6 separate regions of the Homo sapiens genome follow, and regions 1, 2, 3, 4 and 6 are each linked to region 5. Evidence: promoter capture Hi-C in 16 types of primary human blood cells and fetal thymus (Javierre and others, 2016). All regions are on one chromosome and are shown on one strand. Each heading gives the region's core, a stretch centred on a gene start or on the middle of the fragment in contact. The rest is flanking DNA. Distances are from core to core; before and after follow the strand shown.

The links. Contacts are between HindIII fragments. The CHiCAGO score rates a contact against its expected background, and 5 or more counts as called.
Region 1: a fragment that was not itself captured here is called in contact with the fragment with the promoter of OSBPL3 in region 5 in 2 of 17 cell types (non-activated CD4 T cells and fetal thymus); the score reaches 7.6 in non-activated CD4 T cells.
Region 2: a contact is called between a fragment that was not itself captured here and the fragment with the promoter of OSBPL3 in region 5, in 1 of 17 cell types (non-activated CD4 T cells). The highest score is 5.1, in non-activated CD4 T cells.
Region 3: a contact is called between a fragment that was not itself captured here and the fragment with the promoter of OSBPL3 in region 5, in 1 of 17 cell types (non-activated CD4 T cells). The highest score is 5.1, in non-activated CD4 T cells.
Region 4: a contact is called between a fragment that was not itself captured here and the fragment with the promoter of OSBPL3 in region 5, in 1 of 17 cell types (fetal thymus). The highest score is 5.3, in fetal thymus.
Region 6: a fragment that was not itself captured here is called in contact with the fragment with the promoter of OSBPL3 in region 5 in 1 of 17 cell types (activated CD4 T cells); the score reaches 7.6 in activated CD4 T cells.

What each region holds. Positions count from the first base shown.
Region 1 is chr7:23,594,043-23,598,584 of GRCh38, reverse strand. LOC105375187 (a long non-coding RNA gene) reads left to right here and starts at 1,260. Exons shown (of 2, transcript XR_927098.2): 1 at 1,260-1,468. CCDC126 (coiled-coil domain containing 126) reads right to left here and starts at 1,203. Exons shown (of 4, transcript NM_138771.4): 1 at 980-1,203; 2 at 534-618. RefSeq lists a silencer at 722-961. The HindIII fragment of the contact is 327 bases long and covers 2,475-2,801 here.
Region 2 is chr7:23,538,702-23,542,897 of GRCh38, reverse strand. No RefSeq gene overlaps it. Among named protein-coding and RNA genes, the nearest start is that of TRA2A, 8.8 kb to the right of the region's middle. RefSeq lists an enhancer at 2,994-3,183. The HindIII fragment of the contact is 3,051 bases long and covers 1-2,819 here.
Region 3 is chr7:23,522,051-23,526,002 of GRCh38, reverse strand. The region is part of intron 1 of TRA2A (transformer 2 alpha homolog); the gene reads left to right. Among named protein-coding and RNA genes, the nearest start is that of TRA2A, 8.0 kb to the left of the region's middle. The HindIII fragment of the contact is 1,160 bases long and covers 1,497-2,656 here.
Region 4 is chr7:23,106,723-23,110,960 of GRCh38, reverse strand. The region is part of intron 1 of KLHL7 (kelch like family member 7); the gene reads right to left. Among named protein-coding and RNA genes, the nearest start is that of KLHL7, 3.1 kb to the right of the region's middle. RefSeq lists enhancers at 4,230-4,238, 4,015-4,238. The HindIII fragment of the contact is 2,615 bases long and covers 1,432-4,046 here.
Region 5 is chr7:24,978,229-24,982,771 of GRCh38, reverse strand. OSBPL3 (oxysterol binding protein like 3) reads left to right here and starts at 2,594. Exons shown (of 23, transcript NM_015550.4): 1 at 2,594-2,886. RefSeq lists an enhancer at 1,125-1,294 and silencers at 2,435-2,944, 2,995-3,204. The HindIII fragment of the contact is 2,254 bases long and covers 1,033-3,286 here.
Region 6 is chr7:23,478,518-23,482,858 of GRCh38, reverse strand. It overlaps the pseudogene LOC389473. Among named protein-coding and RNA genes, the nearest start is that of IGF2BP3, 10 kb to the right of the region's middle. The HindIII fragment of the contact is 581 bases long and covers 2,416-2,996 here.

The DNA.
Region 1 (4,542 bases), core at 1,389-3,888, 1.4 Mb after region 5:
ACTTAGCGCCTCTAAGGATTCCCAAAGGACACACCTGAGGGGGAGGGGAGAGGTGAATACTTGTACCTCTGAAGCTGATCCACAGAAAAGCAGAGTCATCAATTTCCTAAGAACATTCTCAGCCATCTTAAAACAGCAAAAATTAGGAAGACGGCATATTTTAATGAATCCTTTGGTTAGGTTTAAGATAAAGTGAAGAACACACAACCCAGGATGATTAAACAAACAAAAGCACAAAACTCAAGTCCAGAGGCCACTTCGGTCACTTCAGTCATAGCTAATGAAAGTATCACAAAGGATCTTTTCATCAAATGAAGAACTAATGACGTTATAGGTCTATATTCCTAATTCTAACCACTTACAGGTGTGTGTTTTGATGGATGAGAAAACTCAAGCTTAGAGCCTTTAAGTAACCAAGATCACCAAGGCAGGCAGTGAGAGAAACCCAGGCAGGATTCGAACCCTAGCTGGCTGAGCCATTCTCATTACCGTCACAGTCAACAATCAACACGGCAGTTTAAGTTCATCCTTACCAGTCACCCAGGAGATGAGTTTTGAAGAGGGAGTTTAAAAGGGGCATCTGACTTTCTCTCTCTCCCAAAGTAGAAGAGAACTGAGCTGTCAAAAACAGAAAAAGAAGTGAGTGCGGTGCCGCCCGGGATCTACATCCCGCAGCTCCGGACCAAGCCCGCCCCGCTCGACTCGCGCAGCCCCAGCCACGCTCGGCTCTCCGCCCGAGCCGAGGCGCCGCGGCTGTCAGACGCGGAGGGGCAGAGACGCGGCCCAAAGGAAGGGACAAAGAGCCTTCCCGGCCGCGGCCGGAGGCTGCCGGCCCGTTCCTAAGCCGGGTTTCCGCAGCAGCGGCCCTAGCGGGGCGGGGACCGGGGACGGGGGCGCGGCGGGGGAGGAGCGGCCGGCTAGGCTGAGGGGCGCGCGAGAGGTGCGGGCCCGGCTGGCGGACTCGCCCCTTACTCATTACCTGGCCGTGGGCTTCTCGTCACGGTCGCCGCCGCCACGGAGCTTCTGAGCCGGGGCGACGCAGCGAGAGCTAATAAGCGGGCGTCAGCTGCGTCCCACACTGGCGAAGCAGCCTCCAGATCGAGCTGGAGAAACGCCGGTGGGTGGGAGTTGGGACGAGGTTTGTTCCCAGCTTGTGGAGATTTTACTCCGCTCGTCCCTCGCACTCGGCTTCCGCTCCGCCTCCCTGCCGGCCCTTCCCGCACTCGGGGGCCAGCCGCCCGCGGCGCGCGGCATTGTGGGGGATGTAGTCCCAGAATGAGGAAGCGGCGGCACGTGCTTCCAGCCGCCCTGCACCTACCCTGGGTCAGAACGACGCAGCTGCGCGGCAACCAGAGAGGGCGGCGGGGTCTTCTGTGTTGGAAGATGAGCCCGCCAGAGGCATACCCTCGGCCTTAACTCGCTGCAGGCGCTGGAAGAAGGGCTCTGGCGTCTTGTTCCCGACCCTCCGGTGAGGAACCAACCTCCTAATACTATTGACCTGAGGCTGGGAAAGCTTAGTGATGATTAAGTGTGCTACAGATGAGACTACCCATTATTGAAGCCAAAGGTCCTTAGCCAGTGGAGTGAGGCAAGAAAAATAAAAGGATTGAAGATTAAATAGGAAGAAACAAAATTATTTTTTCATAGATTATGTAATTATGTACGTGGAGGCCGGGCGCCGTTGGCTCATGCCTGTAATCCCAGCAGTTTGTGAGGCCAAGACGGGAGGATCACCTGAGGTCGGGAATTCGAGACCAGCCTGGCCAACATGGTGAAACCCCGTCTCTACTACAGATACGAACTTAGCAGGGCGAGGTGGCGGACGCCTGTAATTCCAGCCTCTCGGGGAGCTGAGGCGGGAGAATTGCTTGAACCCAGGAGGCGGAGGTTGCAGTGAGCTGATATCGCGCCACTGCACTCCAGCCTGGGCAACAAGAGCAGAACTCCGTCTCAAAAAAAAAAAAAAATTGTTTGTGGCACTTCAAAACAATCTGCAGATAAACTGTTAACAATAAAAGTTTTTAACAAGGTTAATAGATACAAAAATCATATTTTAAAAAATCAATATTTATTTATATATGCTAGTAAAAAAGATAATTTTTTTAAAGATACCATTTCCAACAGCTCCAAACAAATATCAAGTACCTAGGAATAAATCGATCAAAGAAATGCAAAACCTGCCTGAAGAAAACATTGGAAGACACTGAAGAAGACCTAAATAAAGATGTAACATGTTCATAAATTGGAAGAGTCAATACTGAAAAATGCCAAGTCTCTCCAAACCTACCTACAGAGCCAGTGCAATTCCCAACAAAATCTCAATAAATTTCTGTGTATGTGTGAGAAACTTGACAAGCTAATTCAAAATGTTATGGAAGAGCAAAGACAAGCATTCATGAGGAAGAGGAGGAAGAAAAAAAAAGAAGAGGAGAAGGAGTGGGAGGAGGAAAACTTGTGCTACCGGATAACAAGCTTTATTATAGACTAGGCACGGTGGCCCATGCCTATGATCTCAGCACTTCGGGAGGCTGAGGCAAGTGGATTGCTTGAGCCTGGAGTTCAAGACCAGCCTGGGCAACATGGCAAAACCCCATCTGTACCCCCCAAAAAAATACCAAAGTCAGCCAGTTGTGGTGGCATGCACCTATAGTCCCTGCTACTCAAGAGGCTGGGGGCAGGAGGATCACTTTGAGCCCAGGAGGTGGAGTCTGCAGTGAGCCATAATTGTGCCACTGCACTCCAGCCTGGGCGACAGCAAGCCTCTTCCTCAAAAACAAAACAAAACAAAACAAAAACAAGCTTTATTTTAAAGCTGTCAACCTAAATAATAGGACCTCTAAAAGAAAAAGACACTCACTTAAGAATAGGGCATTGCAATGGGAATATACATGCCACAGTAAACTCTGTGTGTATTCAGGGAGGTAAAGGAAGACAAAGAAAAAATGAGGAGGATTAAATAATTGCTTTGAAATTATTATGCTTGGCTACAAGGATCAATAATAAGGGTGACTCCAGTTCTAGGTTCAACAGGCAGTTGCTGGGCAGATGTCCACACAGAAGTACTTGTTGTGTAAGGTTGCAGTGGTCTTTATGTAAGGTTGTGGTTTTTGCAGAGTCTTTTGCAATAGTTTAGTTATCAGGTATACACATGTGAAAGCCTTCCCTTCTTAGCCTTCCCCAGCTCTGTCAGGGTGTTTTGTTTTTAACACAAGTGACTCCATTTTGATTCTGACAATTTTCACATTTCCCTTTTTTGATCAAGAGCTTTCTCAGAATGCATCACTGATCAGTCATTTTGTAGTTACATTCTGATGTCCCTGGAGGCCAGGTTGAACCTGTCCTGGTTGCTGGTTTCTTCCCTCATTGTGGGGAGTGATTGGTGATGAGTCAGTGTCAAAAACCATTAAGCCATATTTGGGCAATAAGGGAGGTTTGAAGAAAATGGCTCTCAGGCTAAGTCTACCTGGAGTTTATTATTGAGGTCTATAGTCTTTGGCTGTCATCTCAAAGTGCTGGCCCAGCATTATTTTGTTAAGACCTATACTTCTGCAAAAATTTAACAAGTAACAGATACAAAGTTTAAAAAAGGAAAAATATAAAGTAAAATGATAATCTCAGTTTGCTTAATAGTTTTGAGCCATGAACCTAGGCTTAACCAGCTGAATAAATGAAATGACCATGAAGGATTAAGTGAGACCTGTTGTAACGTTTCATAAACCCATCAGTTTTTTAAGTGTGCATGAGAATGGGCCATCAAATATAGCTGGTTGGAGTCCCAGAAAACTTGGCATGCCTTAATGTTTGAAAATCCCAGGCAGAGTACAGTGGCTTACATTTATAATCTTGACACTTTGGGAGGCTAAGGCAGGAGGATCTCTTGAGGCCAGGAGTTTGAGACAGCCTGAGCAACATAGTGAAACACCGTCTCTTCAAAACAAAACAAAACAAAAAAAGTAGCTGGGCATGGTGGCGTGTACCTGTAGTCCTAGCTACTTGAGCCTAGGGGTTCAAGGCTGCAATGATCTATGATTGCATCACTGAACTCCAGCCAGGGAGACAGAGTGAGACTCTGTTTCTTAAAAAAAAAAAGAAAGAAAGAAAAATTAAGAAAACCCCATTACATTACTTATCAATCTCTCAAGAGCAAAGAAAATTATCAATCTTGTCAGAATGTCATAAGTTTGGACCAATGTATTTGATGGTAGCAACCACTCTAGTGGCTTTTACTTAGCCATCCTGTGTCCATCATTTAGAATGTGTCCATTCTAAAAGAATGTTTATTTTTGCTCTCAGAAGATTTTCAGAAACAAGCAAGGGAAAAGAGCAACATAAAGGGAAAAGAACAACAAAAAAGTTGCATGTAACCAAAATAAAACCAAGAAAGTTCATAAAAATTTTAACCCAGGCATGTGGATCAGACAAAATATTAAAGTAGGCACACAGACCAAAAGTAAATTCATCAGAAAAGATATGCCTCACAGACAGAATGGAAATTCTGTAGAAATCAGAAAAGACTTCCCAGAAAATACAAAAAGTCTTTGT
Region 2 (4,196 bases), core at 45-2,544, 1.4 Mb after region 5:
TTTCAACTTTTTGGCTATCATGAACAATGCTGCTATATACATTTGCATACAAGTTTTCATGTGAACAAACATATGTTTCCCTTCGGTATATACCTAGGAATGGGATTGCTGGGTCATACAGTAATTCTCTGTTTAAGTTTTTGAGGAACTGCCCATCTGCTTTCCAGAGAAGGTGCACCAGTTTACATTCCCACTAGCAGTGTATGAAGATTCCAATTTCTCCATATCCTTTTCAATACCTGTCATTGATTGTTCTTTTTTCAACGTTATAGTAGCCATCTTAGTAGGTGTAAAGTGGTATCTCATTGTGGTTTTAATTTGCATTTCTCTAAGACTCATGGTGTTGAGCATCTTTTCATATGTTCATTTGCCATTTATATATCATCTTGCTTTTTTTTTTTTTTTAGAGACAGGGTCTCCTTCTGTCACCCAGGCTGGAGTGCAGTGCTGCCACTGTAGCTCACTGCAGCCTCCAATTCCTGGGCCCAAGCCATCCCCCTACCTCAGCCTCCCACAGTAGCTAGGATTATAGACCCACACCAACATACCCAGCTAATTACAAAAATATATATATATATAATTCTAGCACTTTGGGAGGCTGAGGTGGGAGGATTGCTTGAGGCCAGGAGTTGTAGGCTGCAGTGGGCTATGAGGTGACAGAGCAAGCCCCTGTGCCCCCAAAACACCAAAAAACAAAAACAAAACAAGAAACTAAGAAAAAAAAATTTTACAGCAACAAAAGCTAACAATTTTTTAAAATTAAATAAAAAATGAAAAAAAAAACCAACAATTAGAAAATGAACAAAGGACTTCAGTAGATTTCTCCCTACGGAAGAGATATAGCCTGGGTATGGTGGCTCATGACTGTAATCACAGCACTTTGGGAGGCGAAGATAGGAGGATCACTTCAGGCCAGAAGTTTGAGATTAGCCTGAGAAATATAGTAAGACCCTGTCTCTATAAAAAATAAAATAAATAATAATATAATAAATAATTAATAAGTAAATTTTTTAATAGAGAAGGGGTCTCACTATGTTGCCCAGGCTTGTTTTTGCTTTTCTTTTTTTGAGACGGAATCTTGCTCTGTCGCCCAGGCTGGAGTGCAGTGGCGCGATCAAGGCTCACTGCAGTCTCCGCCTCCCGGGTTCACGCCATTCTCCTGCTTCAGCCTCCTGAGTAGCTGGGACTACAGGTGCCCGCCACCATGCCCGGCTAATTTTTGTGTATTTTTAGTAGAGACAGGGTTTCACCATGTTAGCCAGGATGGTCTCGATCTCCTGACGTTGTGATCTGCCCGCCTCAGCCTCCCAAAGTGCTGGGATTACAGGCGTGAGCCACTGCGCCAAGCCGCTTGTTTTTTCTTAAACTGTAAGCGTTATTTATTTACTCTAAATACTAGACCCTTATTAGACATATGATTTCTAAATATTTCTCCTTTTCAGTGGATTGTTTTTTCTCTCTGTTGATATTATCCTTTAATGCACAAAAGTTGTAAATTTTGATGTTCTAATTTACCTATCTTCTCTTTGAATGTGGTTGATCTTTCTCTCTTTCAGTGTTGAGATCTAGTTCCTAAGAACTGGCTAAATGCTATGGGTTAATTTTGTTGTGTTCTACTCTGAGTGCTTGAGGTGATAAAATGTTTGTTGGTTGGTTGTTTTTTTTCTTTTAAGACAGTGTCTTGCTCTGTCACCCAGGCTGAAGTGCAGTGGCACAAATACTGCTCACTGCAGCCTTGACCTCCTGTGCTCAAGTGATCCTTCTGCCTCAGCCTCCTGTGTAGTGGGGACACAGGCATGCACCACCACACCTAGCTAATTTTTTAAATTTTTTAGAGACAGGGTCCCACTTTGTTGCCCAGGTCTCAAACTCCTGGGCTCAAGCAGTCCTCCCACCTCAGCTTTGCAAAGTGCTGAGATTACAGGCTTGAGGTACTGGGGAGGCCACAAAATATATTTTTGGCCGAGCACAACAGCTCATGCCTGTAATCTCAGCACTTTGAGAGGCCGAGGCCAGGGGTGGGTCACTAGAGGTCAGGAGTTTGACACCAGCCTGGCCAACATGGCGAAACCCTGTCTCTACCAAAAATACAAACATTAGTTGGGCATGGTGGCAGGCGCCTGTAATCCCAGCTACTCGGGAGGCTGAGGCACGAGAATAACTTGAACCCAGGAGGAGAAGTTGCAGTTAGCAGAGACTGTGCCACTGCACTCCAGCCTGGGAGACAGAGCCAGACTCTGTCTCAAAAAATAACAGTAATAATATTAAAAAGAAGAGATAGCTCATGCCTATAACCCTAGTGCTTTGGGCATTCCCACATCCACCACTTTGGGTTTAATAAATTTGCTGGAGCAGCTCACAAAACTCAAAGAAACATTACAAAATATATGGTATGGGGGAAGGGGTGTGGAGCTTCCATGCCCTCCCTGGGCAAGCCACCCTCCAGGAACCTCCAAGTATTAGCTATCTGAAAACTCTGTGAACCCAGTCCTCCTGGGTTTTTATGGACAATTATTTGGAAATGTGATTGGCCTCTCTGGAATGAGGGTCTTATGACCCACAATCAGAAAGGCAGGGGAATAGTATTGAGTCCTGCCTTGGGTCAAGTGAAAGGAGTAGAGGAGAAGGTCAAAGAGGCCTGAGGCCTGCAAGAAGCCTAACACACCTAACATTATAACAAAAGACTGTAACAAGGCCTATGGGGAGTTATCAGCCAGGAACCTGGACGAAAATGGGTACAAGAATATCATAACACCACAGTATGTAAGTGGAAAGGGACTCTAAGTGAAAATCCCTTTCAGTTATATCATCGAAAAGCTTCATATTCCACCTTTGGAGCTGTTTTACAAACACCTTATTCTGAAATTGGCAATTAAAGGAAATAATTAAGCATTTATCATTTCCAGTAGGAACTATATTTTGCATGTGATCCTAGCTAAAAGGCTGAGAAGCGATGGAACTGTATTTCAAAATAGTCAAATAACCTGTAGTTGATGGAGAAAGCTCTTTAAAAAGAAAAGAAAAGAAAAAAAAACACTATTGAGCAGAGAGAGGAAGTGGGCAAGAAACAAAACAAAGAAAAACGAAACTATTTACTAGAAGATTGCCAGCTGGTGAATATAGGGACAAGATAGAGTTGGAAAGTCCACATTTTGAATAGCATGGCTGATTCAGGCAAAGATTTTTCAATGGATGCCGAACCCACTGAATGGTTGATGGGCAAATGGATATTCAGGTGGTGTGGAGGTATCTCTCTGCTTGCTGGTCAAAAGGAAGAAATGCACATGTGCAGATGTGCACATGTTTAAAGCAAAAGCTCAAGCTGTATACGTTGAAAAAAAAAAAACTACCACTGTGAGACAATTACCTTCTTGGCTTGGCCTGGTGCATCGTGAAATCATTAATATAAACTGTTCAGTGTATCTGTTTTTACTTTCATGCAAGAGTTTGTACAATATCAGCACTTCAGTTCTTGGTTAAAACAAGTAATTTTTGAGTGACTGGAGACTAAACTTAGGTCTGCTCATTTGAGCTCTTTATCTGTAATGCCAGTGGCTTGCTGGGAGGCACAGGAGCCTAATGGTTAAGAGTGTTAATCTACCCAAGTTTAATCCCCAGTTCTGCTTTGTGCCAGCTGTCTGACTCACCTGGGCAAGTTGCTTTACTACTCTCCGCCTCAGCTTTAAAAATCTATAAAATGGCTGGGTGCGGTAGCTCATGCCTGTAATTCCAGCACTTTGGGAGGCTGAGGCGGGCAGATCACGAGATCAGGAGATCGAGACCATCCTGACTAGCACGGTGAAACCCCATCTCTCCTAAAAATACAAAACATTAGCCGGGCGTGGCCAGGCGTGGTGGCTCACGCCTGTAATCCCAGCACTTTGGGAGGCCAAGGCGGGCGGATCACGAGGTCAAGAGATCAAGACCATCCTGGCTAACACGGTGAAACCCCGTCTCTACTAAAAATACAAAAAATTAGCTGGGCGTGGTGGCGGGCGCCTGTAGTCCCAGCTACTCGGGAAGCTGAGGCAGGAGAATGGCATGAACCTAGGAGGCAGAGCTTTTGGTGAGCCGAGATCATGCCACTGCATTCCATCCTGGGCGACAGTGCAAGACTCTGTCTAAAAAAAAAAAAAAATAGCCAGGCGTGGTGGCAGGCACCTGTAGTCCCAGCTACTCGGGAGGCTGAGGCAGGA
Region 3 (3,952 bases), core at 827-3,326, 1.5 Mb after region 5:
ATAACACTTTCTTAGTGTTTTAGTTAGTTCCCTCCTTTTAATTTTTGGCCATTTCCTTCAACCAACAGCAGGGTCATCTTGATAATAAAGAATAGTTTAAACAAGCAGGCCGGGTGCAGTGGCTCATGCCTGTAATCCCAGCACTTTGCGAGGCTGAGGCGGGTGGATCACTTGAGGTCAGGAGTTCGAGGCCAGCCTGGCCAATGTGGTGAAACCCCGTCTCTACTAAAATAAAATACAAAAGTTAGCCAGGTGCGATGGCGGGTGCCTGTAATCCCAGCTACCCAGGAAGCTGAGGCAGAATTGCTTGAACCCAGGAGTTGGAGGTTGCAATGAGAAGATTGTGCCACTGCACTCCAGCCTGGGTGACAGAAAAACCAAACAAGCAAATAAACATCAAAACAAAAACCTGTTAAAGCAGGTTGTGCTGTGAGAAGAACTTTTCTGCCTGGCTTCTGCTTTATAGCCTATAAGATAGACTGGAGGCCTATTTAAGACTTTTGTTAAAATTCATGATACGAGTTGAGTTATTAATCTGCCCATTTAAACCGGGCAGTGTATTTTTAATGGTTATTGGATGCAGGAGCCAGATTACTGAGGAAATGGTAGGATTCCTTGACTGGACAGCTTTAAGAACAAGTAGTCTAGTGAAACAGGGCAGATACCACCCATTCCCAGCAATCTTTTTTGTTTGCAATTTCAATTCATTTTCCAAATTGTGGATAGTTTTATGAATTTCTTTGAGAAAAAGTTGAAATTATTTCATAATGAAGACGAGTCAGAGAGAAAAGGATTAGCCTAGCATTTGTCCTCTTTATATAAAGGACTTCTTATAGCCTGATTCCTAATGCAGAGTTCAGTGAAAGTGACATTTATTTGGTAACAGCTTTTGAGAAATGTTACTTTATTTCTAAATAATTATATACTTGGCAGTTTATTCTTCCAGTTAAGTTTACTAATAGTTACTGATTTGTTAATATAAGTTTGTAAGTTGTTTTTGAAAGTTAAAATGAAGCTGGGTGTGGTGGCTCACACCTGTAATCCCAGCGCTTTGGGAGGCCAAGGCGGGCAGATCAAGGAGTCAGGAGATGGAGACCAGCCTGGCCAACATAGGGAAACCCTATCTCTACTAAAAACACAAAAATTAGCTGGGTGTGATGGCGTGCACCTGTAAGCTGAGCTACTCAGGAGGCTAAGGCAGGAGAATCGCTTGAATCCGGGAGGCGGAGGTTGCAGTGAGCTGAGATCAGGTGCCACTGTACTCCAGCCTGAGCTACAGAGCAAGACTCCATCTCAAAAAAAAAAAAAATAGTTAAAATCATAGTGACAACTTTGTAGCTAGGAGTTAGAGACAGCTAAGAGGACTGTTTTTAGCTTAGATGTTTCCATGAAGAAATTTGTGCAGACTGAGATTTCCTCTGAGATAAAAAGAAAGAAGGGCAGACAACAAAGGAGGTTAGGTATTTGTGACACCTTTGATAATAAAAAGCAAAGCTTCTTTTAAAATAAATCTGATGTTGGCCGGGCGCGGTGGCTCACACCTGTAATCCCAGCACTTTGGGAGGCTGAGGCGGGCAGATCACTAGAGGTCAGGAGTTTGAGACCAGCCTGGCCAACATGGGAAAACCCCATCTCTATTAAAAATACAAAAATTAGCCAGGCAAGGTGGTGCATGCCTGTAATCCCAGCTGCTCAGGAGGCTGAGGCAGGAGAATCACTTGAACCCAGGAGGTGGAGGTTGCAGTGAGCCTAGATCGCACCATTACACTCCAGCCTGGGTGACAGAATGAGACTCCTCCTTCTTAAAATAAATAAGCTAACATCTCTTAAAAAGACATTCTATCATACCATAATGCTTTGTTGCTACTCCAAAACTGGGATTTAAAATTGGAATTTTAAGATGTTACTGAATTATCTTGTTTACTTTAATAAAAGGTTTTTATTTCCATCCTAGTAAAATTAAAGAATTGTAGTGTTTTACAGAGCAAAGCCTCCTGTGTATGTTTGAGAAGGACTGTAGCAGCGTTCGTAGATAATAATCCAGCTATTGCTATTCAACAGTAGCATAAATGAATGTTATGTCACAGGGTCTGTTTTGTGGAAAGGAAAGCCAAAAGAGAAGAGGGGAAGATACTCTTATGAGTTTGATTAATGAACCAGTCTGTGAAACTTAAATTACAAGCAAATTAGCCATGCCTTTTTTTATAAGATACTGAATATGCTGCTTTCATAGTTTCAGTGAATGAAAAAGCCCAGATTGCTATGCCTGCTCCAGACATCTGTTGAGTGGTTTAGAGTATCTGAGATGCAGTGAAAGACTTGTAGGTAGCTAAATGGGAAAGGTTGGTATTGAGCTGAAAGGTAGCTGTGTATTTCAGTTTTGTTTTTATCTGAAAGAAAATGACCAGGTGGCATTTGTACAGTTCTTGATAAATAAGTCTTGACATTAAACTTGAAGCAAAGGAAAAGTTTTCAGAAAGCTGTTTGAGTTGTGTGATAGTCTTAAGGCATAAATAAATTGGTGTGAAATTACTTCTGTGAAATTGAGATAATTATTTACACTGATAATCAAGGCTTAACTGGACACAGAAACCAAGCTGTCCATCCTGTTTTGATCATAAGTGCCTCATATCTGTGCAGTTAAAAAAAACAAGCTTATGATCAGTAAGTTATTTTATTTGGAATGCTTTGATTTACACCCAATTTTTTCAGAAACCCATCACTTTTTGGATATAGAATATAGTCACTGAAGGGAGTACCAGTATACATAAATGCATAAATTATGTAAAAACTGAACATAATTCTAAAGAGATGGAATCAAAGATAAAGACTATGATATAAATTTTGTACCTTCTTGCACATTGTGGTATGTCGTGGATAATAGAGCATTTTAAAGTGATCTGGTTGCAAAAATGTGTATATCAGGAATTAATAAGCTAATGGGGAAATTTTAAGAATTTCATGCTTATTAGTTTTTTCGGTATGTTTGTCTTCAGAACATATTTTAAGTCAGAATGAGCAAAGATAGTAGTCAAAGTTGGGAGAAGGTGTAATTTTACTGATTTTTTTCTTTTTGACTTATTTGAACCTTGACATGTGCTATGGGTGAGTTTAGATAGGTGTGTACAAATATTTCAGCCTGGGATGCCTTGCTCTAACTATATCTTGATTTCTTAGCATGACTTAGTGAAAGCTTATTTTTAAGAATCTTCAGATTATAAAGTAGTGAAAATTTAACACTTAGGTGGGGGGAAATTATAGTTGTTAGATTTATATTTGAATTATATTAAAATTGCTCACATTTTAGGAACTAGAATGAAACATGGGAGGAGGGTGAAGAGTATGGTTTAAAAAGCATTTAGAGAAATTTAGTAAATTCTCTTTGTTAGAAACTAGAGTTTTGAACAATTTTAAAGACTATAAAATTGTTTTTTTTTTTTTTTTTTAAATAAACTAGTTACTTGCACTTTACCTGCTGGCTTTTCCATTTGGTAGATAACATTCTGAACTCCAGCAGAGTTTTATAATCCCCACGTGCTTAAATATACTAAATGTTCTTTTTCCATTAAGGTTAATGTTCGTGAAGAAATTGAAGAGTTTTTTCCAAGAATGTGGAAGATAAATCAAGATAAAAGAAGGCTAATGAAAAGTATTAAAGATCAGAAAATTAAAATTGAATGGGGGAAAAAATTGAACAGAAGATTGGTCAGATAGAAGCACTTGAATATTTTTTTAAGGCTATTTTGAATTGTTTGAATTGGGGAAGAATACACGAAGTATGAAAAATGAAAAACTCAATGAAGAATGAAGAGAAGTAGAAAGCAAGAGTGAAGTAGAATTAAAAGAATCTGGAAGAATGAATGGGTCCTAGGTTAAGTAAATGTATGGTTTATGTTCCAGTGTCTGTATGATCAAGTTGTAGATGAATTTGCATGATTACTTAGTTAATAGA
Region 4 (4,238 bases), core at 1,490-3,989, 1.9 Mb after region 5:
CAGTGGGTTGTCAATAAGTATTCATTTCAATGAATGAACTTGGAAGCCAAATTGAACTAGAGTAATAAATAAATAGTAAGTAAGAAAATGTAGTGAACCGCATGTTCTCACTCATAGGTGGGACTTGAACAATGAGAACACACGGACACAGGAAGGGGAACATCACACTTTGGGGACTGTTGTGGGGTGGGGGGAGGGGGGAGGGATAGCATTAGGAGATATACCTAATACTAAATGACGAGTTAATGGGTGCAGCACACCAATATGGCACATGTATACATATGTAACAAACCTGCACATTGTGCACATGTACCCTAAAACTTAAAGTATAATAATAATAAAATTAAAAAAAAAACAAAAGAAAATGTAGTGAATTTACTCAGCTTTTCATCTTAATGGGGGGAGAGAAGTATTTAGAGGGGTATGTTGAGATTAAGAATGGGTTTGCTGGTTGTTTGGTTCAAAAGCTGGAGAGGTTAAAACAAGCTTAAGTGCTAATAGCAAGAATCCAGCAAAGAAGAAAAGTTAAAGATGCTCAACAAAGATGGAATAACCAACAGTATAATACTTCTGAGAAGCCCAGCATCCAGGAAGCCAAAGCCTAGGTAGAAGTACTGGCCTTAGAAAAAGCAGCAGCATCTCCATTGTAGCAGGATAAGAAGAGAAAAGGGAAAGTGTCAAAATAGGTTTATAGATCTGGTGGTAGAAAGTGAAAAGGTAGACAGTTCTAGACTAATGACTTCTATTTATCTATGGTGTCAAAAGAAGGTGATCTGCTGAAAGTGAGGATCTAGAGAAAGGACTCAGATTGGAGGAAAATAGTAAAACAAAAAGATTGCTCACGGGCACTGATAGTCTAGTGGAAATTAGTGGCCAAGCACTTACTTGGCAGAAGTTGCCCAGTGAGATATTTTCCAGCTGTGCTTGGAGCCTTGCACAAAGAAGGTAATCAGTCATCAATACTCAAGTTTGCCAGATGGACATGAAAAAGGGACAGAGGGTCAAGAAAACTGGGACACTGGAGAGACAGTGGAGTGACAATAGCTTCTAAGCTGGACAGACAGAAAAAGAAAACAGAAAACAGTAAAGTACAGGAAAAAGAATAAGAAGGTCTGGATGACTGGAATTGTCAATGAAAGTTAAGAGAATTAAATGAGACAAAGCATGTAAAACACTCTGCAGAGTGGCTGGAACAGTTATAAGTGCTCAAGAAGTCTTATTAATATCAAGGGTTTAACACTGAAGGTTTAGATTATTCACAAGAGAACCTAAAGATAATGACATGTAGTAATTTACAGTCAGACAGATGAGAATACAGAAGCAAAGTCATTTTAGCCGGAAGGTGAGCCCAGTTAACTGCCCAGTATCTAATTGTGAAATCAGCTTTGTAGTTCTCTCACATAACTCTCAATAAGGACTTTAACATAAGCTTTCAAGTTCCAGTTATGCTTTAATTCATTTAATGTGGAGAAACTATAAACTATGGTGGTACTCAGGAAGGTCTTAAAACATCTTCCTCCAATGTTAAGAGACTCCTGGACTTCATTAACACAAAAGAAGAGTATGGCAACAGCAATGTGCATGTGCAATAGTGACTGTGACCCAGACCTGCCTTGTAAAGCCTCTATTTTACATATCAGGTAATAACATTAATCTAAGCAAAAAGTTAAAGAAATAAATGAAAAGGTACTCAATCCAATTAAATAAGATGCTCCTATACACCCAGTTAGAATGGCTAAAGTGATAAGACTGACAACATCAAGTGATGGCAGGGATGCGGAGCAAAAACCTCTCTCACACACAACTGGCAGAAGCGTAACATGGTACAATCACTTTGGAAAACTACACGACGATATCTTTTAAAGCTGAAGGTGGTATAGCTTATGACTCAAAAATTCCTGTTTGGTATTTCCCAACACAAATATTAATACATACATATGCATACCAAAAGGCATGTACAAAGTGTACAAAAATGTTCAAAGTAGTACTAGTCTTAATAGTTCCAAACTAGAAATAACCCAAATGTTCATAATGATAGAATGGATAAATTGTGCTATATTCATTCAATGGGATACTATATACCACAAGGATGAAGTAGCGCTACACACAGCACAGATGAATCTCACAAACAATGTTGGCTTTAAGAAAACAAAACACAAGAGTTTATGCCATATGATTACATTTATATAAGTTCAAACACAGGAAAAACCCACTTTTTGCCGATGTGCTGCAGACTTTCATGAATGCACCACACACCAAAGACAGAACAAAGAGCTCCTCTTAATAACAGGGGTGCATAGTGCCCTTAGAAGATGGCATGGCATGGTATTTATCAATGGTTGCTTCTGCTCTAACTTCGATGGTTACAGAGTTAGAATAGTTGTTACTACTGTGGGGTTGGTGACTGAGAAGGGCATAAGGGGGGACCTCTGGTGTACTGGTCATGTTCTCGTCTTGTTGGTGGGATGTGCACTTTGTAATAATTGAGCTATACATTTATGATTTGTGCCCTCTTATATGTATCCCATACTTCACTGGAGAGTTTACTTAGAAACAAAAGGCTAGAAATGACAAAAACAATGTAGGAAAAGGCTTTAGAAGAAGCCGAGGCTGCTGGCTCTGCAGAATCCCCTTTTGCCTCTATGTATAGAATCGGCCACTATACTACAGAGAGATGGAATGACCCAAATCATGTTATCTAAAATAACAAAATGAAATAATGAGAGAGCAGGATTGGAACTGAGGTATGCTAATCTCACAATGTTCTCAAATTCTTGAAGGAATGTTTCTGGATGTTTACAGAGGGGTCCTTGTCATCTAGGCACTCATTATCCTGATCCTTAAAGCAATGAGATTGTAAAGGGATGTAAAAGTAGTCATAACACAAAAATATTTACTAAAGAACAAGAGCACTTATAAAGTTGGTCCTCACTCAAACATTCCTACTCTGGCTCAGACCAGCCACTGTTTCTGCCAATTCCCATCAACTGCCCTTGTCAGTCATTCTCGGTCAATTGTTTCCTGTGTTATGATGTTAAACAGGACAATACAATATAACCATAATGTAAATCAATTGCGAAGTGAAACTGCACATCTTGCAAAAGATGCATGATTCCATGAAGTTGATAAAAGTGCTATTGGAGAACTGTTTGAATCACATGCCAAACCACTGACAACAGGAGAACCTGGCAGATTAAGGTCAGTTAATCATTGTGGAGGGGACCCCTGGTTGTTCACCAGGTAACCATTTTTTCCTTCCTACTCAGTAACAGAACCCTGATTTTTCAGTAATTGTACTTCTATTGTAACGGTAAATAAGTGATGTTAATATACTCCAAAGCTAAGAAATGTGAGTCACTTTTTAAATCCAAAGAGCTAAACGGACAGTCTCAGATAATCCTCTGCTCCTCAAGTAAATATTTGCTGCTGCAATCCAGTTTCACCCTATTTAGGGATTAAGGCAATGCTTTACAATGCTATGATCCACGAATGAAAACATATATTCGAGGGAGTGGGAGGGAACCTAATGAGTCTTCAACGAGTTTAAGCCCTGGTTAACTATGTTCAACTACCATTACAGGCAGGCAATAGCTAAATGCACCAGCAATTTGAAGTCTGTGGTATTGTAGATACAAAAAGGTTTACATGAAAGGAACATGAATTTGAAAATAGATACATGAAAGTCAGTTACATAAATTAACGAATTCAGGCATTCACAGTACTTCAGCACAAAGGCCAGGCCAGGAAAGATTTAAAAGCATTCCCACAGACTGCACTGGTGCACTGTAGCAGGAGCTGGTGAACAAAGACAAAATCCCAGCAGTCAGCGTTTGCTTATAGAAACCAGAAGTTAATATCTTCATAAAAATCTTAAATTCCTCTACTGTTGCCCATATTCCCAGCAGAACCACCAGACAAAGCAAACTAGGTTTTGCAGTTACACATAACTCACATCCTGCTTTGTCCCCTTGAAACAGGATCCCAGTCAACAAAACCCAAACATTCCCACAAATCTACTTAGATGTGTATTATCTATAAATAAAGCTTACAGAAAGGAAAAAGTGACTTTCTATGCTTATCGGTGTAGATGTTATGGAATTAAAAAAAAAAAAAGCCTCTTTGTTTCACCTTCGCCAGCGTTAAAATCCGTTCTTTTCATAACCCACCTTTCGCCGATGTGCTGCAGAATTTCACGAATGCACCACACACCAAGGACAGAACAAAGAGCTCCTCTTAAT
Region 5 (4,543 bases), core at 1,345-3,844:
CAGGAACTGAGGTAGTCTGATTCTAGAGGCCCTCAGTTTCCTTTACTATCAAAACATGCAAACTCAAGTAGCACCCGCTTACCTATTACCAATTTCAGAAGCTAAGACCACTGTGTCACATGTGAAAAATTCCCACTGTGGTGGGCTTGTCTCCAAAGAGAAAAATTATTTGTTCAACAGTTCAAAGAAGAGGGTCTCTAGGAACTCTTAATATGGAACCACTGGTCTTTATTAGACATTCAAATCGTTATTTTAAAATAAGACGCTGAGGAGAAAGCTGATTTTAGAACATTAACAAACTTTTTCAAGAATAATTAGCTCTGCGTGGGTTTCAACTTTTATTTTTATTTTTTCCTTTTGATTTTAGGAGCTGGAGAGCCTGGAAGTTTATTTAGGAGTAGAAGAGGAAATGAAACTATGAAAAGCCACAGTACGATTCCTCCTTTACTTGGAGACAAGGCACAATGTGAATAATTCTCTCATCCTGTCCAATTAACTGCCTCAAGTACACACACACACACACACACACACACACACACACACACACACACAGAGAGAGAGAGAGAGAGAGAGAATGTACACTCTATTATTATTTGATTAGGAAGACATTAATGAAAAAGCTCGGAACGGGATGCTAAACAACAAAGCCCTATGCAAATCACTTCCTTTCGGATTGAAGGCTTGTCTCCTACAGAAAAACCAATGCTAAAGAAACAGGCGGAGAGGCTGAAGGTGGAGAGCAAAAGAAAAAGAAAGAAAATAGCTTGAACGAGGAAAGGGACTGGCAGGAGGAGGACAGAGCAAGCCTCTCTCAGAGAGAAATTACAGAAAGACGGAAGGAGGTTTGGGAAAACCCAGTCTAAGCTGCTCCGACGGCGGGGCTGGGCGTGGGCAAGGTGCCTCCTTGGACGGTCCGCGCGCCTGCCAGACGCGTCCTTCCACTACCCGTCCAGCCACCTGGCGCTGGTCGGGCTTTGCGAGGTGGTTTAGGAACCGCGGAGTCATTCGATTTGAAATCTTCTCCAATAAGCTTCTCCGTGTGCCGACGTGGGCAGCATGACAGTGGATTTGCTCGGCAGCATCTCTGGCGCCTCCCGCCCTCGCCCGCCGCCTGCCAGATCCGAAACAGACAGTCCCAGACATTTCGCGAGGGGGATGGTTCCAGAAAGCGAAGATCTGAGCGTGGTGAATGAAATGTGAACAGAATAGCTCCGGAAAGAGTCTCAGAAACCTTGAATTGGGGTCAGTTTGGAGACTGAAAATGCGTCGAGCGCTGCAGGTGGTGGTTGGCAGGGGGATTTAACACTGTGGAGCCCTTACTCCGTCCCAGGCGCTGAGCCCAGCGAGCCACGCGCGGTGCCCAGCTCGGTGAGGTCGGTTAGTTGGGTCTTCAGGGAGGCTAAATACCCTGTATTTGCTATTCCCTTCGCCTGGAACGCTCTGTGCGAGACTGGGTGTGGCAGCTCCTTTCCCAGGCTCAGGAATCTGGGTAAAAGCCACCCTCGCCTAGAGGCCCTCAGGGTGAGCGCCCCATCACGCGCTAAACCACTTTCGAAAGTGGACTTGGCCCTCCTCTCAGTACTAACAGTCTGTCAGCCTTTTATTTTTTGCATAGATATGTATTTTCTCTTCTTTATTGTCTGTCTTTCCACAAAAAATGCAAGCCCCGTGAGTACTGGAGCCTGGTGCGCCTTTCTCACAGTTGCAAGCTCGCAACTGCTCCTGGCATATACTAGGTGCTCACTAAATGCTCATGCCCTTCCCACCCGCCACCTGCGGCACTCGACACATTTGCAGTCTGCAAACTGACCCCAAACCATCAGCTGCTTGCATTCGTCCTAGGATCAAAGAAGGCCATTGGGCTAGTGGGAAGTCAAGTCGGGTGGACTTTTCCGTCTTTCAGGGAGATTTAATAGTAACGACGGTGCTCTCCCCACCTCCTACCCCCTTGCACATAAACTGCACAGAACAAAATCACCCCGGCACGAATCTGCACGACTGCCTCTGGAGGTAGGGTCACGGTCTCCGAGCCCCGGGTCTCACACTGATGCTGTCCTTTGTCATCTCGTGCCTAGAGTGCTGCCTCCCTATGTATTTCCTCTGTTCTCGACTCCTCTGCCACAGTCTGACTTTCTCGGGAGGTCGAGTTCTCCTAGCCTGTGCGACCGCAAGGGTCCCCTGGAGCCTTCTCCGTAAACCTGCCCCTCCCGCGCTGCCCTCACTTTTTCCTCCTTCCCTGGCCCGGAAAAGCCACTAGAGGAACATTTACCGAACGCCTACCGCGCGCAGGCACCGAGCTGGGCCACCGGGAGCCCCACCCAGTGCCTCGCCGCAGGACTCGCCTCCCTCCGCCCTCCCAACCCATCCGGAATCCGGGGTCCCTAGTTCCCCCGCCGCGTCATGGAATCCGCTGGCTTCTTCCGAGGACATCGCCCCACCTCCTTCCCGAAAGGCGACTTCTGATTGGTGAGATTGTGCATCACTCTGCCGCCCTCCCGCCCCCTCGGGGCCCCGCCCCTGGGCCTCTCAGGCCCCTCCCCTGCGCTCCCGCCCTTGCGCGGCTCCTCGGGCTAATCGCCGGGCGGCGCGCGCCGAGAAGTTCTGGGCAAAGTACTCAGAACTGGCCGCGTGCTGGTGGCGCCCGCCAGCCGGCCCGGGAGAGGGGACTTGAGCGCTTCGCGGCCGGTGCGCAGCGCGGCTCCGGCCCCGCAGTCTGTCTGCAAGTGGCCATCCCCGCCCCCGACTCCTGCGGCCGGTGCGGGAGCTGTCAGCTGCACGTTGCGGGGGTACCGGAGAAGCCGGGGTTGCCTTCTCCCGGTTCTGTGCGCTAACCCCGGAGCCCGGCCCCGGGGAACTAGGGAGCGTCTCCGGCTGCACAGCGCTCAGGTGAGTGGCGGGGCGCCCGCCTAAATGGGGCCTGGGTGTCGGGGGGCCTGGCGGCGGCGCGGGCTCGGAAGGGCTGCTGTTTGCGGGGCGCCGCGGTTCTCTGCCGGACCGGGGTCTGTCCGAGTCGCCCGGGGAGGCTCCGGCCCTGGGGCAGACCCAAGCCTGGGAGCTTGGGTGCCGGCTGCAGCTCCCGGGGAAGGAGGACCCGGGTCTCACCCACCCCAGGACACCTTCCCTCGAGGGACGGCTCAGAGGATTGACCGCCAGGAGGAGCCGAGCGCAGGGGCCGCGGCGCAGGTGCGGGAGGACGCGGCGCGCGGAGCTGTCCTGGGCAGCGGGGAGGCGCTACGCCGGGGCTAGAGGCTCAGGAAGCCTGGTAAATTGGGGCGAGCGCGAAGCTTTACCACATCCGCGGGATGGGGCGCGCCGGAGAGACTGAGACAACGCTCGCGGGGCAGGCGCTCCGCTCGCCCGCCTTCCCAACCCCGGCTTGCTCAGCTCCCCGGTGCTGGGCTGGAGGCCCAGGGCACATTCCTTTCTTGTCTGAATTTACATATTCATCAGCTTTCTGGCCCCTTCTGGAATTTTTTTTTTTTGTTAGTTTCCAATTACTACTGTTCAGATCACCTTCAGGCTCACCCTAACTCTCGTCTCAGTGTCTCTCACATTGGTCCTTTCCTGGAGGCCCTGCAGCGTCTTAGTTCAGGGTCTTAGGGACTTATGCACTCTGTCTGAACGTTGTCTACAGTTGGGTTTTCCTACCTCTGTCTCTGTTTATTCCGTGGTCAGGTAAATTCTTTAAGTACTGTCATCATAAGCCAGAAACTCCCAGGCAGCCTCTTAGCGCTGCCCAGCTTCCCGGGGAGCGTTTGTGGCCTCTGGAGTCGCTGATGGGCACTGTCGCAGGTCGTCCAGATACTTCTTAAGCAGGGGCGCGCCGCCCTTCCTTCGGCAACGCAACTTGCTTGCTGCCTTCTGCACACTTGTGCTTGTCCTTCTCCGCCTCACAAGCCACCAGTCTCCTCAGTCGGGACTCTTGGAGCTGAGGGGACTGTGAAGTTGTCGGTTTCCATGTGTCTGCGTACTGCGCAGAGGTGCTTGAGACCCCCTAGGTGTTGCTCTGACCCTCAGAGTTTGAGTATTGGGATGAGGGCATTTAGAAATATTTTAAACTACAGCTGCAAAAGAGATACTTCCACAGATGGGTGAAAGCGAAGGCCTGGCTTCTCATCATCTGCACTGTACCCCGCAAGTATCATACAAGGTGAGGTCCTTGGCTAAAGGACTATACTTGGCTAAAGGAGATCAGTCAAGCAGGCCTAGGTTCTTATGCATCCAAGCTAAATGACCATCCCCTCCAGCCAAGCCACATCACCCGTTTGCTGTTGCTCATAGCACTTAAATTTCTCTCTGAAATTGTCTCTTTGGGTTATTGGGTTATCTGCCTTCCCTCATTAGGATGTAAGTACCAGGAATGCAGAGACCTTGTCTGTCTTGTTCATCACTTGATCCCCTGTGTCAAGAACACGCAGTAGGTTTGCAGTAAACATTTATAGAATGAATAAATGAAACCTTCTCTGTAAATATGAGGAATGAGGATTTCATAGCTGATTTTGATTTTCATCTTTATCCTTTTTTTACTGTTGGGAAAATTAAC
Region 6 (4,341 bases), core at 1,457-3,956, 1.5 Mb after region 5:
CAAAATGAATTTGTTTGAATACCCAACCTCTAATCAGCTACATACATATACAATCAAAATCTCCAATGTCCTTACATTACCTGTAAGATTTTTTTTAAAAAAAAATCAGCAAAACTTGTTTTATGAGCTTTTTGCAATGGTGTGATCTCGGCTCACTGCAACCTCCGCTTCCCAGGTTCAAGCAATTCTCCTGCCTCAGCCTCCTAAGTAGCTGGGACTACAGGTGCGTGCCACCACGCCCAGCTAATTTTTGTATTTTCAGTGGAGACAGAGTTCTTTTTTTTTTTTCTTTTTACCTAACAGCTTGCATATTTATTGAACAAATACTACTAAAATAGCTAAAATACATTGGGTACTTGTCATGAGTGCATCAGTAAAGATCACACTGTTACAAAAGCCTGCATTTTCAGCAGTACACAACTGCAACTCTACATAAATACCACGGATGCAGAATACTGTTTTCTTGCTCTATTTACACAGCTGATATACCTATTCTAACGAAGGAGGGAGAGGAGGAATGCACAAGAAACTCAGGCCAATGGGGGAGCAAGAAAACGAAGAAGTGCAGTGCATGCGTCATCAGTGTTTAACAGTCAGAAGCATAACAGTTCAGAACAAGGGCTGTCCTATCAAAAGAAGAGCTGAAAGACAGTTATATGAAAATTAAGGTGGGCGTTCAGACTGGCTAACACAACAACATTCCATGAGTAGATGGTATTTTATTTTTGTTTATCCATTTCGTTGGGAGCAAGGACAAAAATGTAAACCTATACCTTGCTTATCAAAATTGCCAAAAAAAGAATGCTCTGCCTTTTAAAAAAGTATTGTGATTTTGTAAAGACATTGTTTTCCAATGTAATATTTGGAAAAGGTGTCATTTCCATATTCCTACTCAGATGCCAGTGTTTTGGGTTTTTTTCAGGGGGAATTTATTTAAAAAGGTTTTGCTCTTTTTTTCCACAAATATCCTTTCAAACAGAAAGAACCCAAAGAGACACCTCAAAATGCCTGTAAAATTATTGCTTTTCTTTCTGTAAGTCAGGCAGGCGAGGCTATAGAAAGGAAGAGATTTGGTAAGTAAATTACAGTTTTGTGATTGCTCCCGCTACCGTGACTGCATGTCCGTGAGTGCCAGCCAATGAGACAATCGTCTCTCACACTTCGGTAGCATTCGCTCAACCTACAACACTGAGGAAGAAAGCCACACTGAAGACACAAGGAAAACAAGTCAATCCAGTCTAGAGAAAAACATTCAGCGAAACAGAGTACCAACACCTTCTTAGAACATGGAAATAAAAAATAACCCCATCAGAGCTACCTCGCCAAGGAGCATGATGAAAGTCCAAAATAGCACCATTCATCAGTGTCTCAGGTCCTGTGGCAGCATCTCGGTCACTTACCACAAGGAAACGAGTTTCAAACTATGTCTATACATCAAGAGTACATGGATAAAATATAGAGATATACAGACAATTGATAAACATAAACTACTAGGTTTGTTACATCTAAATGAAGAAAAAGGGGGGGACTCTCAGCCTCTGCAAGAAGCGGTCGGGAGCTGTGTGAGTGAAAAGGCAGGAGTGCACTGGTTGTGTGAACGCGGTGGGAATTTGAGTTGTGGAAGACATTGTTGTAGCGAACCAGGCCTGAAGGCCCACCTGTAAGGGTTGTAAACGTGGATTCACAGTGTGAAATTCTGAGCATTTTCACTTGGGTCAGAATGATTAAAAACTGGTTTGATGATACCTATTTGTCCACTGTAAATTCTCTAAAGCAAGGCTCAGAGTCCCATAGTTTCCTCTTATACTTAATGATTTACACAGAAAAAAATCCCATATATGGTACCATGACCTCATGAATACCCATACACCGTATGTAATACAAATGGAGGTGTTACGATTAAAAAAAGTGGAGGTAACTGATTCTTGGGGAGCGGAGTTCACTGCTGCCCAGTAGAGTCAGGGAGGCAGCGTTTGTCTCATCGTTCTTCTTGTAGTTCACTTCCTTTGGGACAGGAAGTCTTCCCTTAGGAAGCCTTCCCTCCATGTCCTTGTTTGGAAATGGTTCTTGACTGACCCAGAGAAAGAGTTCTGGGTAATAAACCATTTTGAGAATCTTAGTCTTGGCTTCTATTCTCCCTCTCTTCAGTCCAGGGAGACCAACAGACAAAAGCCCCGCTCCCTGTTCACTCTCCTCTCTACACCTGAAACACAAATGTGGTTGAAAAAGGGCAACATGCTAGAAAAACAGCTTGGGGGGGAGGGCGAGACGGGGTTTCAACATGTTGGCCAGGCTGGTCTCGAACTCCTGACCTCAGGCGATCTGACTGCCTCGGCCTCCCACAGTGCTGGGATTACAGGCGTGAGCCACTGCGCCTGGCTGTCAGTTAGCTTTTAATAGGTTATATTCCAAGCTTTCATGGAAAAGTTAGAAAAGGACCATGTTTTAATCCACAGATATCTGATTTTTATAAAACAACTTTAACAGTCTTCAGTTTAACTTTCTTTTTTTCTTTTTTGGAGATGGAGTCTCGCTCTGTTGCCCAGGCTGGAGTGCAGTGGCACCAACATGGCTCACTGCAACTTCTGCTTCCCAGGTTCAAGCAATTCTCCTGCCTCAGCCTCCCAAGTAGCTGGGACTACAGGTGCGTGCCACCACACCCAGCTGATTTTTATATTTTTAGTAGAGACGGGGTTTCACCATATTGGCCAGGCTGGTCTCGATCTCCTGACCTTGTGATCCGCCTGCCTCAGCCTCCCAAAGTGCTTGGATTACAGGCATGAGTCACTGCGCCCGGCTCAGTTTAACTTTCAAGTTTTTGAATTTACTCAAAAGAAACATGGGAAAAAACCTTTAAAAACAAAATAATTGTATTTTATATTATATAGTTACATTAAACAAAACCACAAATAGATTTTTATCATAATTAGTAATAACTGCATATTAACAATACTTTCAAGTTTTTACTTTGTTACAGGTTTTAAAGACTATAAGCTTGATCACTGGATTTGGTTGTAAGAAGATACTCTAAATTTTAGCTTAATCCAGAGTTCCATAAATCTGATGTTTTTATTTTTTTTGCTTATATATCCTCTCTGTGCTTCACTGTAATATATTTATTTCTATTAATTGCCACATCCAGAGAGTAACTCAGCTTATTACTATGTTAGCAGAACATTGCCATAGGTAAAGAAAGAAGATAAATGCATCACTTATTTTAACAAAGATAAACTTTTTTTTGTTTTTGTTTTGGTTTGTTTAAAAAGCAATGGGCATTCTTCATCCATTTAGAGGCTCAAAGTGTTAAAATGTTTGGTTATCCTAATACAATATGACTTCCCCTCACTTTGCAATGAAATAATTTAAGGATATTTAATAAACAAGGAAATAATTATTTTAAAGAATAACAGGAAGGGGCTATCATTTGACTGAAATAATATTCTTCATTTATAGCAACTTAAAACTTTGTTGGTAGTCATTCCTGAAGCAACATTACAGTTTAATCTCAGCTCTCCTAACCCCCAATAAAGACAGTAAATAACAGGACCCACACTTCACTTAAATCTGAGTTTTCTCTCCTTATTTAAGTTTCAAAAACCATTGTTGTTTTCACGACAAGAACAGACCAGTATCTATCTTTAGCTCTTTTTTTATAGAGACATTTTTTCAAATAACACTGCTTATTTTGATTAATGTATCTATTATGGATAATGTACACAAATAGAAGTGGTAGAACAATCCAACAGAAAGGATTTGTGATAACTTCATATTTTCGAGATAAATTTAACTTCAAAATATGTGACCCGTATTATTTCTACCAATTTTTAAACTGCTTACGTTCATGTTTTAATAATGTTGATGGATGTTTTATATGTATAATACTAACTACATATATTTTAAATAGAAAACGAGTTATAGAAAGACATAAAATGGAAAACACATTTATATGATGTAAGTTCTAATGGTGATATACTAGTAGCATCGTAATTTCAGTTCAATCTATACTGTTTTGTTAGTCTTATCTCCCCAGCTTTAAAGACATCATACTGAAGTATTCTGATGGTTAAGAAAACACTTTAAAAGTAGTGCTTGCCTTGCTTGTTTTAACCTGCAACCTCAGAATTTGAACACAAGTTCTATCTTGCTTTTCTCCTTCACTAATCTCTCTAAAGGGCTTCTCAGCAGAAATATGTGCATATATTCATATGTCCAAGTGCACACACTGAGTTCATTCCATATCCGACAAAACTGCCCTCAACTGGAAGATCTGTTGTTGTTGAGGGAACAGAGTAATGTTACCTTTCGCCCTATTGTCTATTTCATTGAATTAAAACATCTACT